Linked DNA regions of Homo sapiens: regions 1, 3, 4, 5, 6 and 7 are each linked to region 2. Evidence: promoter capture Hi-C in 16 types of primary human blood cells and fetal thymus (Javierre and others, 2016). All regions are on one chromosome and are shown on one strand. The core of a region is centred on a gene start or on the middle of the fragment in contact, and the rest is flanking DNA. Distances in the headings are between cores, read along the strand shown. Region 1 overlaps LOC107985242 (a long non-coding RNA gene). Region 2 holds the start of B3GALT2 (beta-1,3-galactosyltransferase 2). Region 3 overlaps LOC107985242 (a long non-coding RNA gene). Region 4 overlaps LOC107985242 (a long non-coding RNA gene). Region 5 overlaps LOC107985242 (a long non-coding RNA gene). Region 6 overlaps LOC124904475 (a long non-coding RNA gene). Region 7 overlaps LOC107985242 (a long non-coding RNA gene).

The links. The method cuts DNA at HindIII sites, captures the fragments that hold promoters and counts their contacts. A CHiCAGO score of 5 or more calls a contact.
Region 1: a fragment that was not itself captured here is called in contact with the fragment with the promoter of B3GALT2 in region 2 in 2 of 17 cell types (total CD4 T cells and total B cells); the score reaches 6.1 in total CD4 T cells.
Region 3: a fragment that was not itself captured here is called in contact with the fragment with the promoter of B3GALT2 in region 2 in 9 of 17 cell types (naive CD8 T cells, naive CD4 T cells, naive B cells and 6 more); the score reaches 14.2 in naive CD8 T cells.
Region 4: a fragment that was not itself captured here is called in contact with the fragment with the promoter of B3GALT2 in region 2 in 2 of 17 cell types (naive CD8 T cells and naive CD4 T cells); the score reaches 6.0 in naive CD8 T cells.
Region 5: a fragment that was not itself captured here is called in contact with the fragment with the promoter of B3GALT2 in region 2 in 8 of 17 cell types (naive CD4 T cells, total CD4 T cells, total CD8 T cells and 5 more); the score reaches 10.8 in naive CD4 T cells.
Region 6: a fragment that was not itself captured here is called in contact with the fragment with the promoter of B3GALT2 in region 2 in 5 of 17 cell types (naive CD4 T cells, naive B cells, total CD8 T cells and 2 more); the score reaches 7.0 in naive CD4 T cells.
Region 7: a contact is called between a fragment that was not itself captured here and the fragment with the promoter of B3GALT2 in region 2, in 10 of 17 cell types (total CD4 T cells, naive CD8 T cells, naive CD4 T cells and 7 more). The highest score is 24.2, in total CD4 T cells.

The regions. Positions count from the first base shown.
Region 1 is chr1:194,335,606-194,338,305 of GRCh38, reverse strand. All of the region lies in intron 2 of LOC107985242 (a long non-coding RNA gene), which reads left to right. Among named protein-coding and RNA genes, the nearest start is that of LINC01031, 1.0 Mb to the right of the region's middle. The HindIII fragment of the contact is 1,174 bases long and covers 722-1,895 here.
Region 2 is chr1:193,185,275-193,187,974 of GRCh38, reverse strand. It overlaps B3GALT2 (beta-1,3-galactosyltransferase 2), which reads left to right and starts at 1,362. Exons shown (of 2, transcript NM_003783.3): 1 at 1,362-1,956. All of the region lies in intron 10 of CDC73 (cell division cycle 73), which reads right to left. The HindIII fragment of the contact is 388 bases long and covers 1,254-1,641 here.
Region 3 is chr1:194,317,420-194,320,119 of GRCh38, reverse strand. All of the region lies in intron 2 of LOC107985242 (a long non-coding RNA gene), which reads left to right. Among named protein-coding and RNA genes, the nearest start is that of LINC01031, 1.0 Mb to the right of the region's middle. The HindIII fragment of the contact is 2,830 bases long and covers 22-2,700 here.
Region 4 is chr1:194,224,640-194,227,339 of GRCh38, reverse strand. All of the region lies in intron 2 of LOC107985242 (a long non-coding RNA gene), which reads left to right. Among named protein-coding and RNA genes, the nearest start is that of LINC01031, 920 kb to the right of the region's middle. The HindIII fragment of the contact is 8,029 bases long and covers 1-2,700 here.
Region 5 is chr1:194,246,950-194,249,649 of GRCh38, reverse strand. All of the region lies in intron 2 of LOC107985242 (a long non-coding RNA gene), which reads left to right. Among named protein-coding and RNA genes, the nearest start is that of LINC01031, 940 kb to the right of the region's middle. The HindIII fragment of the contact is 5,601 bases long and covers 1-2,700 here.
Region 6 is chr1:194,196,552-194,199,251 of GRCh38, reverse strand. It overlaps LOC124904475 (a long non-coding RNA gene), which reads right to left. Exons shown (of 9, transcript XR_007066777.1): 8 at 1,666-1,729. All of the region lies in intron 2 of LOC107985242 (a long non-coding RNA gene), which reads left to right. Among named protein-coding and RNA genes, the nearest start is that of LINC01031, 890 kb to the right of the region's middle. The HindIII fragment of the contact is 3,468 bases long and covers 1-2,700 here.
Region 7 is chr1:194,276,307-194,279,006 of GRCh38, reverse strand. The region is part of intron 2 of LOC107985242 (a long non-coding RNA gene); the gene reads left to right. Among named protein-coding and RNA genes, the nearest start is that of LINC01031, 970 kb to the right of the region's middle. The HindIII fragment of the contact is 3,038 bases long and covers 1-2,700 here.

The sequences.
Region 1 (2,700 bases), core at 59-2,558, 1.2 Mb before region 2:
TCCACTCCACCCAAACAATATTTAGCCTCTAAATGGATGGCAATTAGGGCAGAAAGAAGAGCAAGTAGGTCTCTGATTAAAAGATGAAATATCAGTGCTAAACAAAATGCACATTCCTAGATTCAGGAGGTAGCCGAGTATTTGTGTATAAGAGGGATATCACAAGTAAAGACTATTAGGAAAACAATATATATAGCTGTATTTAAGAACACTCTCGGGGAGATAAATATTGCTAAAATCAATGAGGAGTTATATTTTATAAATTGTGACTTACTCAGATCCTTACGACAAATTTGTTTCTACAATGTCTATGTATAAAGGTTTCTTTCAACTATAATGAAATTACATATAAAGTGGCATTTTCCTCTATCATTGTTGGGTGTATAACAGATTTCCTTCAAAATTTTTAATAGTCTAGCAATTATACACAACTTTTCCTTTACTTTAAAAAATGCCCATAAGTTATTTGACAAATGCAATTTTTTTATCTAATTTGAATAGATAAGTAAAGTGACTTATATAAATATATTAAAATCCTCTTGTATGTATTTTTGTGCATCTCAAGTGCATAAAATAGTAATATATAATATATTACATAATAATTATAATCCATGGTTTATGATTCATTGTTGTCATTAGTTCATGGAACTCTCATCTTTTATTGCACTTATGTATATCTTAATATAATAGTTATATCATATTGCTTTAGCTTTAGAAAGCTTCAGATAAGTTTGATCTTGACTATAGGCCACTGACATTCCTTCCTCAGAGCATTTGCTTTAGAAAACTTGCAATTGTAAATTCTTGCTCTTTCCCATTTTACCTTATATGTTCTCAGAACATTTACATTAGCCTATCATCTAACACCAAGATTATTTTAAAATAAGGTGTTGAATATCTTTTGTAATTATTTGAATACCATACATTATGTTGAAATTGTGATGGGTTTGAAACATTATAAAGTAAAAAAAATCCTAAATTCAGCATCATCAGTTAGGGACTGTCCTTGGTCATCTTTACTTTAAAACCTTTAAAAATCGTATTGTGCTAATGATTTTCGCTCAATAATATGTTGCTAAGATTCATCCATGTTTTGTGTGTAGCTCCAGCTAATTAATTTTTAGAGCTGTAATATATTTTTTGAGGGGATATACAACATTGTGATTTTGAACAGGATTTTTGTACACATTCTTGTAGATGTTTCCCAGTATAAATGTGTAAGAGTTGATTTTGAACATCATCTTGGATGTTAAGGGCTTTAGGGTATTAGAAGATCAAATTTTTAAATATTTTCTCAAAAGGATTTCCCAAATGGCTATATCAAATATCAATTTACAACATTTTCCAAGACTTGATAATGGCAATCTTCTCTTTCTCTTTACGAAACAGTGGACACGTTATTTATATGTTTGCCACATTAAGAGTAAAACCTTTTGTTTATCAAAGGTGTATTACAAAATTATAATCCAGTGGAAAAAATAAGATGATAAATTACAATTTGGAAATAGACAAAAATTCACAAGAGATACGGAAGCAAAACACATAAATAGGAATTTGAAAGAAAGGGAACATATATTGTCAAAAAACATATAAAAATGTTTTTAATTTTACCAAGTGATATGGTTTGGATATTTGTCCCCTCCATATCTCATGGGTGTGGAGATTTGATCCCCAATATCGAAGGTGGGGCCTAGTGGGAGGTGTTTGGGTCATGGGAACAGATTTCCCCTAAATGGCTTGGGGCCATCCCCTTGGTAATAAGCAAGTTTTCACTGTGTTAGATGGTGAGAGAGATGATAGTTTAAAGGAGCTGTACACCCCCTCTTCTCTCTTGCTCCTTCTCTTGCCATGTGACACACCTGTCACCCCTTCACCTTGCACCATCAGTAAAAGCTTTTTGAGGCCTCACCAGAAGCAGATGCTGGCACTATGCTTGTTGTACAGTCTGCAGAACTGTGAGCCAAATAAACCTGTTTTCTTTATAAATTAGCCAGCCTCAGTATTCCTTTACAGCAATGCAAAATTTATTAACACACCAGTCATCAATGAAGTGAAAATCAAAGAAAAAAACAAACAGAATATACAAATGACTGTTTAATGCAGACCATTCACAGAGGTGACAATCTTATTGCTAGTAATTGGTATGCATATATATTTTGATCCAATACATTATTTTAAATACTTTGTAGACATTTTTATGTGATATTCATGATTAAAATAAAGTAGGCAATATTGGTGTCCTGGTGGATGTATTTCAGAGTATTTATTTCCAAAGAACAACTCATTTTTAAACTATGTTTGCTAGCGAGAGTTATAATAAATACTGTGTGCAGATTTACTTAATAATAGTCTTTAATATATTAGTGCATTGCAAGGACTTTACATTTTCCTATAATAATTTTAAAGTATATAATACTATTGAAATTTCTATAACAACCCACTTTCTCAAAGACACAAGTATGTTGAAAAACTTACTAATGTATTTCTAAGACTGGTGATTATTGAAAGTCTTTTAAAACTTTTCTTTAGATGATTTTAAATATGTAATTTTAGAATTTTTTTAATTTATTAAAGCAATTTTGATTACAAAATATTAACTTTTTTAATTTGATGGTAGAATAACACATTTAAAGTATTTTATATATAGAAATAAATGTCTATATGCACTAACATTGGAAATGTCCAGATGGAACATAAAAT
Region 2 (2,700 bases), core at 113-2,612:
AACGGTAGTGAGTGAGAATTGCAGTATGGGTGGATATAGACTACAAGGAAGTTGGGTTTTAGTCCTCTCCTTCAAACTTAACTAGGAAAAGTCAAAGCTCAGTCTAGGCTTTAGGTTTCCTATTTATAAAATTCTTTTTTTTCTTTAACGATCCTTCTAACATTTCTAATACAGTGGGGTTCTTAAAACTACAAAGCACATTTCATCAGCAAAGCTCAAAAATATGTGGACAAAATTTTTTTTAATATCAGAGAAAACAAATTCATATTCATTTGAAATAGCATATATTAATGGTGGAGGCAGTGAGATGAAGAATATGTATATAACTGTTAACCTTTAGCTTAAGCTCCAAAACTATAACTTTCTAGGACTGAATTACTGTCCCTAGAGTCACAGAGGAAAAACTGATAATAAAGGCTTTTTACTACAACAAAAAATTTAAAAAAACCTTCCCTACTGCTCTGCAGTAAGAAAAGAAGGTGCCAGCCCCAGAAACTAACCATATTAGAAAAATCTCAGTGAGTGTGTAGTGTTAATAAAATCTGCCTCATGGCAAGTTATTAAATCTTTCTGAAACATTAGAATAAGTAAACATAATTAGTAAAATCTCATTACCCCCAGATCCTGTACAAGTGTGCTATATCTATTACATCATTTTACTGAATTCTACGATACATGTAATTTTAAAGGGAAGGAAAAATAAATAAAAAATAAATGACAACATTAAAAAGTGATTTAAAATAAAGTTTTCTGCCATCAAGAACACCAAAAACCACATAAGAGCAAAAAAGAAGTGGGCTGTATCACATCATGCATTAGTAAAGTAATCCAAGACAGCTTATTTATACAAACCCCAGAAAACGGGGGGGGGGATCTAAATTACAAAGATACATGGTTTCAATAGAAACCATAGGTCTTAACTACATATTAGTAAAAAATCAAGAGCAATTTGAAAGCAGAGAAAAAAAACTTCAAGAAGAGAATGCACTGAAGGGGTTAAATTACACCAACTTACACACAAAAGCTTATACTGCTTACACCCTACAAAAGCATGTAAGAAACATGAAAACCAACATCTAACACAGAAAACACTTAGAAAGCCTGTACTTAAGAATAAAGTTAAAAAAGGAAGTAAGCTGGAAAAAATAAAATCATAACCATTTCATAATCATCACATTTTCAAATTATTCACTCATCACTACACTTGCATTCAACATATATAATTTATCACATAAAAGCAAAATCTCTAAGCTTCTCCCTACCTTAGGTTTTTAGTCAAAATGAATGCAAACAATCACGTGGGATTCAGCCAAGCAGTGACGTTAAATTCTGCTCTGTCAGAGAGAGCATCTGTCAAGCCCACATTTAAACTGCTGCCTGCCTGTGCAGCAGCTGAGGAACCGTGGATTTCATATTATAGACTAAAACCCCATTAAAACTGCTCAAAATCCTTCCTGCAGCTGCCAGGCAACAACGAAAGAAGAGAGGTAAATCCTATTCTTTTCCAATACAACTGAAGCACTACATTTTAGCTCTGGCTGCTTTACATTGCAGCTCAGTGTTATTAGTAGAAATATGGATACTGAGACGAGAACACAGCACTGCATTGTCCAGCCAGGAAAATAGCAGATGTAAAAAGCTTCAATGCATCAACTGTCGGGAAGAGTCAACAGTGCTACAAGCAGAACGGGCAACTACAGCTCTTTTGTTTAACGAAAGAGAGAAAATGAAAGAAAGGGAAAATTTCAGAAGACTAGGACCCATATGAACAAGGAGGGTAACTCGAAGACAAGCAGACAGATGGACACTTTGGATACTGTGAAAAGCAATCGCAGGAGGCAGACTGTTGGGGGATGTGCGCATGTTCGATAGCATCTTTTTTGCTGAAGTGATGGCGTGCCAAAAGTATTTTCAGTGGGCATAATCCTCTTCACATAAATGGCCTGACCAAGGAAGGTATGTCAATATCTTGTGTATGATAGTCATTTAAATGTGTTACCTTTTTATAGCCCTGGAGGCACTAATACCTGATAAGCAAGTTCATACAGCTCACTGCCCTTGAAACTATGAAAAGGTTTCTTAATATCTGATTTTAAAATTTGTCATTGTTTAGAAGACAAGCTGTCACTGCTTTATGCAGCTAAATATGTAGCTTGGAGTAATTCTGGGTAATAGACATCAGAGGGAAAAGGCAAATAAGAAGAAGATGTGTTTAAAGGATTCCTTAAGAAATTAAACTTAAAAAAAAATCTGTAGCCCTTTACAAAAAACACAGCAATATTCTATCAAATTAGGTCAAACTGAATCCTTATCTAGTAAATTAAATGCTCTCTTAAAAATGGCTATCAAAAGACACAATGCAGTGAAATTTCATTAAATAGTAGCAAGGAAAACCTTAAGAGTTTTTTTTTCAAAGTCCTTTTAAAACAAAACCTTAATATGTAACAGCTTTTAGTAACAAAATCTTCCCCAACATCTCCCTAAATGAAGATAATGAACACAACCAAAGAGAGTATCAACAAATTTTAAATATTACCAAGCTACAAGAAGATACTAAAAGGAAAGCATTAACATAAGATCACATAAGGTAGTGTGAGTTTATGCATAACCCCACAATAGAGCCTCGTGTTATTATAGTGACCATGAATAGAACTTTAAACAAAGGGACATCAATAGTGGCTTTAAAAATTAACTATTTTA
Region 3 (2,700 bases), core at 187-2,686, 1.1 Mb before region 2:
TTATTTAACAATCTCAAAGCTTATTCTTACATTTCCATATATCCCTGCCTAACCCAACTCTTGTTAACCTAATATATCCCATGGGAAACCAATAAGCAAATTCTGATGTGTATATTTCACACTGTAAAGTCAGGGAGGAGTTGGGGGCAGGGAGCAATCCTGCTCCTATGTAACATATGCATAATAGACATAACTATGTACCCATGATCTATATGACTGATTTTTATGTCAGACAACTGTGTTCTACCTAGCATCAAATTTGATGTGTAGTTGAAGGAAAATAACATGCTTTCATCAGTTTTTAAAACACTACATAGTTAACTTGCTATGAAAGCAAACCTTACAACAACAATTCCCACTAATACCAGAATCTCTTATAATTACTTTTTGCTGTTTCCATATGTTACACTTGAACATACAAACATGCACACTTTTCAAGCTGTTTTCATTGTTTTCAGTTATTTCACACTCTGACAATCATACCATTAGTTAAAAAAAATGAGCACCAGCTGCTTCATACTGCGACTTTTCTTCTCCCTATTGAGTTATACTGCCATCCTCTTACAGTAATTTGAATAATTAGGCTTAACTTCTTGCTTTTCAGCCTACAACTGTAATCAATACATGTTGTTGGTTAGATATCCACAAAAAAACTTTCATCTTCACTACCACTTCCTCATGACAAAGATGCAAAAATGAGACTTCAGCATTGTCACGATTTAAGATGCTGCCCAATAGTGTTCAATTTAATAATATACTTTATGGGTATTTATGGAAATTTGACATTCTTTGTTTTTGTCTTACCCTCCTTTGTGGGTTCACACCAAATACGCAGTCTGTTCCACTGTAGTTAGTCTTGTGTGTGTCATTGAGGACAGCCTCTGTATGTTTACAATTGTCTCTTTTTAAATCAAAGATCCAAGATTTAGTAATCTTGTAGTACTCTTTCAATGTAATGATGCTTACTATTGTAGCTTTTTTAGTTAACATCTAAAGAGATATCTTTGAAGATAGCACTAAACTAGCTCATTTTAAAAGCAACATTAGATTACTAAATTTGCCTTAGTTCACAATCCATGACCATTAGTTTCTTAATGGATTTGGGAAACTCAATAATTCCTGCTTAGATTACATTTTATTAGATTTGGATGTCTTTCATACTAACTTTTAAAGATCTGTAGACAGTATAATCAGATTAGAGTTTCAGTCTCAATGGCTTACAATATAACATTTTTATTGGCTCTTCACAAGCACCTAAAGTCACACTGAGAGCAGTATAATACCGAGTGTTCACAAAATTAAATTCAGAAGGTGAGCAATTGGCATATTCTTCCATTGGATAATTGTTTTTTTCTTGTCAGGATTCTATTTCTGTTTTGTTTTAACATATTTCCATGGTTATCAGAAAGGAGAAAACATAAAAGGTCATATATGGTTTATAAAATAAGGAATGGCATTTAAACTAAGAAATCTACTTGTTATTTTCTACATAGCTTTTATGACACGTGCAGTAATTAAGTGTCGCATTACCTTAATTGAAACGTATCTATTTAATTAAGGTACTAGGAAATAAAGGCCATGCAATATATTTCTTCCTAAATACTCACTAACAAAACAATATTTTGAATGAAGCTGTTTTAATAGTTGACTTTACAATTGAATATAAAATTTTCATAAATATAAGAATGAATTATCAATAATTGATAAATGCAAAGCAATACAATCAATATCACTATAAATGCATAAACAAATGGTATGTATCAGCATTTTATGAATCATTGAACATAATATCTTATGTAAATTGGTTTTAAAATGGGTGTGTACAAATACAGAAAATATATTTATCCATTTATTTTTAAAAAGTCAATTGAGATGTAAAAGGCAAATTTATGTTGCTAGTGCAAAATATATACACATGTGTACAATTCAGAGAGCCATTCTTTCTATGGGAACACTTCTTTTGATAGTCACACTCCTTTAGTTTCTAATTGAACTGTGATCCTTGAGGCATTTGCTGATGATGATTTCTATACATTTCTGGTGCATAATATCTGATATGTTTTACCATGTTGCATTTGGAACTGCCTGCATTCTGTCATTGCTGACAGTAAAGAACCAGAGTAAGACAGGGTAGACCAACTTCTGGATGAAAGTAGGGTTCTAAGTTTAAACACTAATGGGAGAAAGATGAAATAATCCTAGTTGGCATTTCCTTCTCTCAGTTTGAAGAATCCTTGCCCAGTTGCTAATATGGTAGCATCAGTCACCGCAAGGATATGTTGGTAAGACATTTTTGAGTCTGATCTCATATGTGTCAAAAGTACTGTGCTTTATCTAGTTCCTCTGGGCAACTGCTTTTTCCTTCAATGAGCTTCACATATTAGCTTATCATTATATCCCACGACTGTTCCTTTCAATGAATTATAAGTAACCCAAACTATAAAATATATAAAATTAATAGTTTTTGGTGACCATTGGTCATAGTTAACTTGTTTTTTTTCTACTTGACTTGGCACATCTCTACTCTGCATTATAACTTGGGGACCACATAGATTATTATCCAAATTGGGATGACAAGGCTGAAAATGAACAGAACACTATTCATGGGAATGGGTATATAAAGCAGTACTGTCCCAGGAAAACTCATTTGCAGAATTATCCGAATTATAATACTTTAGGAAGTATTTTTAAAAAGTAATA
Region 4 (2,700 bases), core at 144-2,643, 1.0 Mb before region 2:
CCTGAGTAACCTGAGGAAGTTCATGGAAATACTGATGAATAACACATGAGGAAAAAAAAATGCGGTGAAGCACTTTGTGACTTTTTCCTAACCTGTTATAATTTCCTGGAAGACAGGGATTGCACTGTTTTCTTCATTCTGAGTATATTGCCAACTGGTTTATCCTAATGATTCTATACAGTATCAAAAAAGAGAAAATACAATGAGAAATAGATAAAACATGCTTTTTCAACAGTTGTCATATTTTATTTTAAAAATCACCTTGCATATCATTACTCTTGCATGCCGCCTTCCCATGCAATATAGTCTGTGTAAAAAGATCTTGATACAGAAAACAATGCCCCAAATGACTGTAGAGCAAAGGAAAAATAGAAGAAAATAAAGAATGAAATGACTGAAATAAAATGATAGAAACAACACTCAAAAAAATGAGGGAAATTTTCATGAGAGTTAAATATGAGAAAAAATGAACAGTGGCGAAACAAGACTACACATAATTCTATGTAATATTTTGGTATTCACATATTAAATTTTAAGGTGAATATATGTTTATACACATACATATTATATACTGCCAGAGACAAAGAGAAGGAATTATTTTTAAATTGGAAATTGAAATACTTAAATCTCCTAATTTGGAATAAATCAAGATTTATTTCAGAATGAGACAAACTTCTACAACAAAGGCAGTCAACACAGATTTTGCCTCACTTGCAGATTTTCATTTCATCTACCATTTTTACTTTAAATTTTACAAAGCAAAAAGCATACATTTTCCAAGATGAGCTTGTTGCATGCCAGCTGTATATGTTTTGTATTACAGTAGATATGGAAGGATTGGGTGTCTTGGATTTAGAAAATCTTCCAGCGTGCACTCCTAATCTTAATTAGTTACCTGCTACACTTGCTTATTTCTACACTATCTCATGTCTTTTCCAGTCTGTTGCCTTATAGTGACAAGCAGTGATACTACATGCCTGCCCAGGGCTTTACTTGTCAAATTGAAGTCACAGAAAGCATAGCACCTTGTTTTGGATGGAGCTGGATAAGATAAATCTTGTTTTTCTCTTCTTTCTGTTAACAGCTAGCTTCTTTTGGGGGAAAAAAAAGCCTTTTTTTTTTTTTCAAACTGAATACATAAAATCTGTAAAGTTGCAACTACAGACAGTTAGCTTGCAAAGGCTAAAGCCAAATAAATTACTGAACTGTGGTGGTTTAACAGTATTTTAAAGACACAGGGATTCTTTTTCCCCCTTTTATTGAATTTAGGTCAAAGAAAGATAAAGTTAAACTATAGTGCTACTGGGAGAAGAAGGACTCGTGGCTGTAAGCGGTTTGTGGTTTTGTCACTATGCTAACCTTAACAATCTATGTTACAATAATAGCTTCCTCAAAATGAACATCTGTTGCTTGGTTAAGCATTATTATAATGATGAGGTAAATATATCATTCACAAGTGAAAATCCTGGTAGTATATAATACATATGTAGCTATTTCTATATTATACAATAGTATAAAATATTAATTTAATTTTGTAATACTTGCCTCTGTTATGTTTTGATATGATATATAGTGTGGAGTTTTCACTTTAGGTTTCTGTGCCCTGTGCTTAAAACTGAGATGAGAATGTTGGCAATGAGATGCATTTTATAGCTCATGTATCATATTTATGCATATTATCTTAATTGTAGCAATAAAGCTAGCCTAAGACTGTGATTGGGACTACAAATCAGAGAGATTGTCCAAGTTATCACAGTTCCAAAGTGAGAGATATTTAGCAAGAACAAGGTAGTGAAAATCTTTTCCTTCTCCACATTGTTGTCTCTAAATCAAACTCTAGTATTGTTCAGTTCATTATTAATTATTCTCATTTTTTTCTAATCTACTTTTGGAAATATATGCATTTCCAGTTGACCAGGGTGTTTAGGTGGTCTAGGTATTTAGTTGACTAGCCCAGTTGACTCGGCAGTTGCCTAGGTTATTTATCTGGGAACTACATTTTTGTGGTGTTAGAGACCACCAGTCTAGGAAGGATTTAGTTTAATAAAAGAGTTTAATTTGCATTCAAATATACATTTATACATAATTTTAATTATGGGAAGATACTACTTAATACTCACTAAGTAATAGCCATGTATTTGGCAAAGAAGTACAGCTATGAACATAAAAGGATGACTGCTGCAATCATAGAGCAATAAAGTATAGGTAAATATATATAATGAACAAAAATATTTTTTCTTGTTATTATAATAAATTGCAAGATACTATAAGAGCATAGAAAAGATGTCTGACTGTAGGATATATGTAATCCTAATATATATTATATAGTATAATATATATATATATCTGTAGAAATTGAGGCACAGTAAATTTAAGTAACTTGTTCAGGGTCTCAAATAAAGTACGTGGCACTGTTAAGTTTCAGACCCACTAAGTCTATACACTAAACTCATATGCTTCACTGTCATATTGAATTTTCTGTTTGATCTTAATATCCTTAGTGAAATAGACTATATTCGTATGTTGTATCATTCTAGAGTCTCTTGAAAAATTTTCAAACAGTAACCAATAAACATTTACGCTATTTGTTAGACTCAGAGCCCTCCTTAAAATATGCAGAAGGCAAACTTAATACATGCAAGATGATTTTACAAAATCTAGATTCAGTTGTTTTTGAAGTTGATAATATGATGCTTCCAT
Region 5 (2,700 bases), core at 20-2,519, 1.1 Mb before region 2:
TCTCCATCTTTTGAGATGATCACATAGCTTTTGTCTTTCGTTCTGCTAATGTAGTATATCACATTGATTGATATGTATATACCGAGCCACCGTTGCATTGCAGTGATAAATTCCAGTTGGTCATGGTATATAAGCCTTTTAGTATGCTATTGAATTTGACTTGCAAGTATTTTATTATGTATTTATGCATGTATGTTCATCAGGGATATTGACCTGTCATTTTACATTCTTGTGGTATCTTTGGCCTTGGTATTGGGGTGATGCTAGACTCATAGAGTTTGGATGTATTCCTTTTGTTCTGTTTTTTGGGGAGAGTTTAAAAAGTATTTAATCTGTGGTATCTAGAGTGACAGAACTAATGATATATATATACGGGAACTTATTAAGGGGAGCTTATTAAGTAGTAGTAACTCACACAATCACAAGGTCCCACAATAGACCATTTGCAAGCTAAGGAGAAAGAAAGCCAGTCTGAATCCCAAAGCTGAAGACCTGTAGTCTGATATTCAAGAGCAGGAAGCATTCAGCACAGGATAAAGATGTAGGCTGAGAAGCTAAGCCAGTCTAGCCTTTTCACGTTTTTCCGCTTGCTTTATGTCCTGGCTGCACGGGCAGCTGATCAGATGGTGCCCACCCAGATTAAGGGTGGGTCTGCCTTTCCCAGCCCACTGACTCAAATGTTAATCTCCTTTGGCAACATCCTCACAGACATACCCAGGATCAATAATTTGCATCCTTCAATCCAATCAAGTTGACAGTATCAGCCATCACAGTATTGGTATTCTTGAATGTTTGATAGAATTTAGCAGTGAAGCTATCTGGTCCTGGGCCTTTCTTTGTTGAGAGGTTTTGGATTACTGATCCAAATGGCTTATTTCTTATTGGTCTGTTCAGGATCTCTATTTCTTATTTATTTATTTATTTATTTATTTATTTATTTGTTTGTTTGTTTGTTTATTTGAGATGGAGTCTTGATCTGTCACCCAGGCTGGAGTGCAGTGGCGAGTTCTCGGCTCACTGCAAGCTCCGCCTCCCAGGTTCATGCCATTCTCCTGCCTCAGCCTCCCGAGTAGCTGGGACTACAGGCACCCACCACCACGCCTGGCTAATGTTTTGTATTTTTAGTAGAGACGGGGTTTCACCATGTTAGCCAGGATGGTCTCAATCTCCTGATCTGGTGATCCACCTGCGTCGGCCTCCCAAAGTGCTGGGATTACAGGCATGAGCCACCATGCCTGGCCTCTATTTCTTCTTGATTCAGCCTTGCTAGAGTGTATGTTTCTAGGAATTTATCAATTTATTCTAGGTTATCCTATTTGTTGACATATAGTTATTCATAATAATTCCTTATAATCCTTTTATTTTTGAGGAATGCATTGAAATATCTCCTCTTCCATTTCTGATTTTGAGTCTTCTATTTCTCCTTTTCCGTCACTTTACATTTTTTTTTTTTTGTAGGTAGTCTAACAAAGAGTTTGCCAATTAACCTTTCAAAACACCAACTTTTAATTTTGTTGGGTTTTTTTGTATTGTTTTTCTATTCTCTGTTTTAATGATTTTTTGCTCTAATATTTTCAATTTTCTTTCTTATGCTAACTTTGGAGTAAGTTTGTTCTTCTCTATATTTCCTTAACTTGTAATGTCAGTTTGTTTATTTGAACTCTTTCTTCTTTTTTAATATGTATTTTTCACTATATAATTTTCTTGAAGTTCTGCTTTTGCAGTGTCCCATATGTTTTGGTATGTTATGTTTTTGTTTTTATTTATTTTAAGATTGAAAAATAATTCCTTTCCGTTTCCTCTTTAACACAATGGTTGTTCAAGAGTGTTTGTTAGTTGTCGAATTTTCTAGTTAATTACTGCTGTTGGTTTCTAGTTTCATTCTATTTTGCTCAGAAAAGATACTTGATATGATCTTGATACTTTTACACAGATAGGGGACATCTAAGACCCATGGAGGGGTTGAAGGTGGGACAATAACCTGTCCTGCTTTTTTCATGAAAACATGGCAGTAGAGGCACCAATGGACCAGAAACCTAAAGTTATGCACTAGTCTTACTAGGGACCTGCCAGGAGGTATAACTGAGTCTGAATTTATGTTCCTTATGTAATCTTTGGTACCGTATATGGGAGTCAGTGCTCATAAAAAATTAATAAGAAACCTCTTCCTGACCAACACAGATATTGTTTCCTCAACAGCCACTGCTGTGGTAGCTGGTAGACATTACCTAACTCCCTTGGGAAAGTTGTTTTAGACAACATAATTGCTCTAGGTTTTCTTTTTGCCTAATTTGGGGTAGTGTGTGCAATTGCCAACACCTCCTGCTGTATCTGGATAAACACCTCAGTGATTATAGAAATACAAACAAAGGAGATCTGGAAGTATGTCCACGAGTTGCAGACAGTGGGGCTAGCTGAAGGATCCTTCTTTGACCTCCTTAGAAATCTTACTTATATCACTAGGACCTTGGGCTAGATTGCAGCTACAGGCAGGCCTGATCATCCTGGTGGTAGCCTCCTGGGCCTAATGAAGTATATTTTGGCTATCGTTCAATGATGTTGCCCTGAGATTGTGTCAGTCAAGGTGTTACGTAGATCCAATGAAACAAATCTCCTCCTTCAAGTATGAGGAGGCTGGTGGGAATATAAAATGTACTACCTTTGCTAAGGGAGCTATCTGGGTCTGGTTATCAGGAGAAC
Region 6 (2,700 bases), core at 11-2,510, 1.0 Mb before region 2:
ACTGTGGAGGTCATAGACAGGGTCACTTTTCCAGATGGTGGTTAAATTGCTGTAGTTTTAACTTGGGGTTACTTTATTTTATTCTGAGTTCTACTTATTTTATTAAAGGAAAGATCATGATAAATTTTCAAAGGATTATCTGTAAAATAGATGAAAAACAAAAATGCAGACTGCCTAAGCTAAAGTTTAAACACTTATAGAATGAAGTTTAACCTGTATAGTTTTTCTGACTCTTATTTCCTCAGTCTCAATTTACTATTTATCAATTATTTCCTGTATTATCTCCCAAAATTACTCACTGACTTTACATCTTTTCCTAGTTTTCATTTTTAATATATTTTTTCCTTATTATCAGGCATATTACAAAATTAAATGGAAATCTTTTGTTGTGACACTCAATAGCCTCATGACCCACTAGAAGAATATTTGATCAAATTTAAGCCTGGAGTTACAATTTATTGAAGGCCATAGTAAGAAACCTAAAGGGAGGAAAAGTAAAAATAAAAAGGAATTGGTGCAAAACTGTCATCAGCAAACATATGCTTCTTTATCATTTATTCTTTCAGCACATTACAATGAACTTTTATTGAGGCATAATTTATACACAATAAAATACTACAAATTCATCATTTTATGAGTTTTGATAAATGTGTATATCTGTATTTCTCAATAAAGATATTGAAGATTCCCATAACCCCAAGAATTTCCCTTGTCAACTTTCACAATATTGCATTCTAATGACTGTATGTCTCTTTTCCAAACATAGACCATTAAAACCTCTTTGAGTAAAGGAGACACATCTTGCCAATGATTGTTCCCTAGCATTGAGTATAGAACCTATATCAAAGTAAGACATAAATCCTTCTAAGCAGACTTCGTGACTAACATCAGGGAGACCAAACAAAAGACAGATGGCATTGAGGAGGACAGAGAGGTGAATTCTGCAAAAAGGGTATGAAATGAGAATGAACATACAATGTGAAAACATAAACCTTTTATATACCATAAAAATGTCATTAGTTTTAGGTAATATATAATTATAATTAAACTTTTCTTGCTATAATCTCTCTAGTGGAGTTCTTTATCCCTGGAATTAATGATTTTATTGGGCTTTTATATTAATCAAGAACAATGTTCTTTGCAAGTAACAGAGAAAAATACATTTCCAAATATATAAAAGTGTAATTATTAGAAAATGTATCTAGAAAAAAATAAATAGTAACCCCTGGAATTGAACAGAACAAATGACTCCAAAGTCATTAGAATTTTCTTTCCTCTATATTATCTTCATTATTTTTCTGTGTGCTCAAACTCTCATCATCACTCAGTGTGGAGAAGATGATATGACTAGTGGAATTTCAAGGATTATTTTCTAATATCTACATTACTAAAGACAAAAGTGGCTCCTTTATTCTGACTTAGTTTGAGATACACTGAGGACATGAATTGATTGGACTGATTTATGTTACAAGTTAATTCTTATAAGTAGGTCAGTAGCTCAGAATTTTTATTAGGAAATCATGGCAGAAATAGGAAAGGATACTTTCAAGCCTACTTATTCGAAAATATGATTCTTAAAGTTAAATTAGGTTTATTATCATATGAAGTTGCTCAGAAATCTTTCTTTCTAAAGAGAATATAAATTATTTTGGGGAAGATACTCACAGTCATTAATATAACCCCAAAAAGAGTACAATGTCTCTTCTTTGGTGGAAAAAGCACTCTGCACCTGAGGGAACAGAAGAAAGTTACATCAGGACATCCTTGGAATAAAGTGTTCTACAAAAGAATGAGAGTACCTCTAGAAATTCACACGGAATCAAATGATATAATTGCTGGACCTCAGTAATGCAAACCCATAGGAAATCAGGATAAAAATTAGATCAGATTTGGTGGTGGTCTAGAAAAAAATAATTTGTAACAAAGGTGACCTCCTTGAGGGTAATCAGATGGTCCAGTTTGCATTGAAAGACACAAATAACAAATCCAGGCATGGTACCAGAAATTTTATATGGTGTCACTAGGAGCCATAGCATTTTCAACTCATCATCTTACCATTAAAGGGTATTCCTATTTATTCCCAGACTCTGAAAGCTGTCAGAGTAGTGGCCCCAATGACCCTTTCTGTATCTATCGATGTATGTCCTGCCTAGTCACCTCCCCATTGAACCTGAGTTTGACCATGTGACTAGCTTTGTCCAATAGAACAAAATCAAATGTAATACAAAAATAGATATTAAAAAACTCTTTTTGCATTGGGACTTACTTATGCCCTAAAAACATTTCCAACAGGTGAAGAAGTCCAGGCTAATAAGCTGTAGACATTTTACTCAGATAACATCTAACATTAACCACCTACTATGGAAGTGTGGCCACCTCAGGCCATCGAGCTTCAAATAAGCCACCACATGACTGCAGCTATGTGAGAGCCTCTTGTAGAGCGCAACAGTAGAAACATCCAATTGAGTCCAGCTCAAATTGCTGACTCATAGAATCACGAGACAATAATGTTGTCCTTGTTTTCCGCTACTAAATTTTGGTATGTGTATGTTATGTGTATGTGTGTAATTACAAATGCACATCTGAAATAGAAATAGTACCTTGGTGTGCTGTCTGTCATAACAAAAAGTTAGAACATGCAACTTTGCTTTGAGGTCAGCTGGCAGATGGAGGCTGGAAGAAAAGCTAGGAGACTGATAT
Region 7 (2,700 bases), core at 185-2,684, 1.1 Mb before region 2:
CTGTGGCCTCATAAGAAGAAAAACGAAGAGCTGTTTCTCCCCTTCTTTCTCACTCTCTCCTTTCTCTTTCTTGTTCTCTCTTTCTCTCACTCTCTGTCTCTGTCATATAAGGCAAAAAGGCAGCCACCTGGAAGCCAGGAAAAGAGTTCTTACCAGGACCCAAATTGTCCAGCACCTTTGTCTCGGATTTCCTTACCCACAAGAACTGAGAACATAAATTTCTGTTGTTGAGCTACCCAGTCTATGTGTTTTGTTATGGCAGTCACAACGAATTACTACAGTGGTTTTATTTTTATTTAAAAAATTTTTCTTTCCAACCTTTATTGTAGGTGCAGAGGGTACATGGGCAGGTTTGTCACATAGATAAATTGTGTGTTGTGGGGGTTTGGTGTACAGATTATTTGGTCACCCAGTTAATGAGCATAGTACCCTGTAGGTAGTTTTTTGATGTCTCCCTTCTCCCACCCTCCACCTTCAAGAAGGGCCTGGTGTCTATTGTTCCCTTCTTTGTGTTCAAATGTGTTCAATGTTTACCTCCAATTATAAGTAAGAACATGTGACATTTGGTTTTCTATTCCTGTGTTTCATATTTTCTTCATCCAGTCCACTGTTGATGGGCATCTAGGTTGATTCCATGTCTTTGTTATTGCGAATAGTGCCATGATGAATACACACATTCATATGTCTTTATGGTAGAATGATTTCTATTCCTCTGGGTATATACCCAGAAATGGGATTGCTCGGTTGGATGGTAGTTCTGTTTTAAGTTCTTTGAGAAACCTCGAAAATGCTTTCCACGGTGACTGAACTAATTTACATTCTCACCAGCGCTGTATAAGCATTACCTTTTCTCCAAAACCTTGCCAACATCTGTTAATTTTTGACTTTTTAATAATAGCCATTCTGACTGGTGTGAGATGGTATCTCATTGTGGTTTTGATTTGCATTTCTCTAGTGATTAGTGATATTGAACATTTTTTTTTTTTTACATGCGTGCTGGCTACGTGTATGTCTTCTCTTGAGAAGTGTCCATTCACATTTTTTGCCCATTTTTTAATGGTTTTTTTTTATTGTTAAATTGTTTAAGTTCTTTATGGATTCTGGATAGTAGGCCCTTGTCAGATGCATAGTTTGCAAATATTTTCTTCCATTTCATAGGTCATCTCTTTACTCTGTTAAAAGTTTCCTTTGCTGTGCAGAAGCTCTTCAGTTTAATTAAGTCCCACTTGTTAATTTTTGTTTTTGTTGCAATTGCTTTTGGAGTCTTTATAACAAAATATTTCCCAGTGCCTATTTCCAGAATGGTATTTCCTAGTTATTTCCAGGTTTTTATAGTTCTGGCTTTTACATTTAAATCTCTAATCCATTTCGAATTGATTTTAGTTTATGATAAAAGGAAAAGGTCCAGTTTCAATCTTTTGCTTATGGCTAGAAAGTTATGCAAGCACTATTTATTGACTAGCGATTCCTTTCCCTGTTGCTTGTTTCTGTCAAATATCAGATGGTTGTAGGTGTGTGGCTTTATTTCTAGGCTCTCCACCATGATCCATTTGTCTATGTGTCTATTTTTGTACCAGTACTATGCTGTTTTGATTACTGTAGCCTTGTTGTATAGCTTGAAGTTGGGTAGTGTGATGCCTCTGGCTTTGTACTGTTTGCATACGATTGCTTTGGCTATTCAGGCTTTTTTTTTTTTTTTTGGTTCCATACGAATTTTAGAATAGTTTCTTCTAATTCTATGAAAACATCATTGGTAGTTTGATAGGAATAGCATTGAATCAGATGGTGGTTATAAATTTTCTCTTTCTATTCAACATTTTAGATACTTTACTATAATGTGTTATGTGTTATTATATACTATAGATTATATGTTTATATTATATATAGATATATAATATCTATATGATATTGATATATATATCATATATAGTTTTTGCGTGTATATATATTTATGGAAGGCCTGACTTTATATATATATATCTATATATATCTCCATAAATCTGTGACTTCATATCAGTAATCAGTTTTTGGAAATCGTTAGCTATTACTTATTCAAATAATTATCCTGTCTAATTTTTTTTCATTTCTAATGGGACTGCATTTGCACATATATTAGACCTATTCATGGTATCTCTGTTCTTTCTGTATTCTCTCTAAATATTTTCATTTGTTTTACTGTTCAGATCTCCAATCTTGTCTTTTGCTGTTTCTCATGTGTTTTTCAGTACAGCCCTTTAATTCTTAATTTTACATATAGCATATTTTCTATTCTTTTAATTTTCTCATAACTCATTTTATAAAGTTCAGTTCTCTGACGAAAAATTCCAATTCATCTTTATTTGGTTGAAAATATTAATTAATCTCATATTATAATTTAGGTCTCAAATCCTCATAACCTATTACTCCTCTGAAACTATTTCTTTGTTTCTTTTCTAATCTTTGTTATTATCATCATGATCACCATAATTAGCACCACCATTTATTTTTGCCCATTGCTATGACATGTAATTTTTTTTTTTTTTTTTTTTTTTTTTTGAGACGGAGTCTCGCCCTTTTGCCCAGGCCCGAGTGCAGTGGCGCTATCTCGGCTCACTGCAAGCTCCGCCTCCTGGGTTCACACCATTCTCCTGCCTCAGCCTCCCAAGTAGCTGGGACTATAGGCGCCTGGCTAATTTTTTGTATTTTTAGTAGAGACGGGGT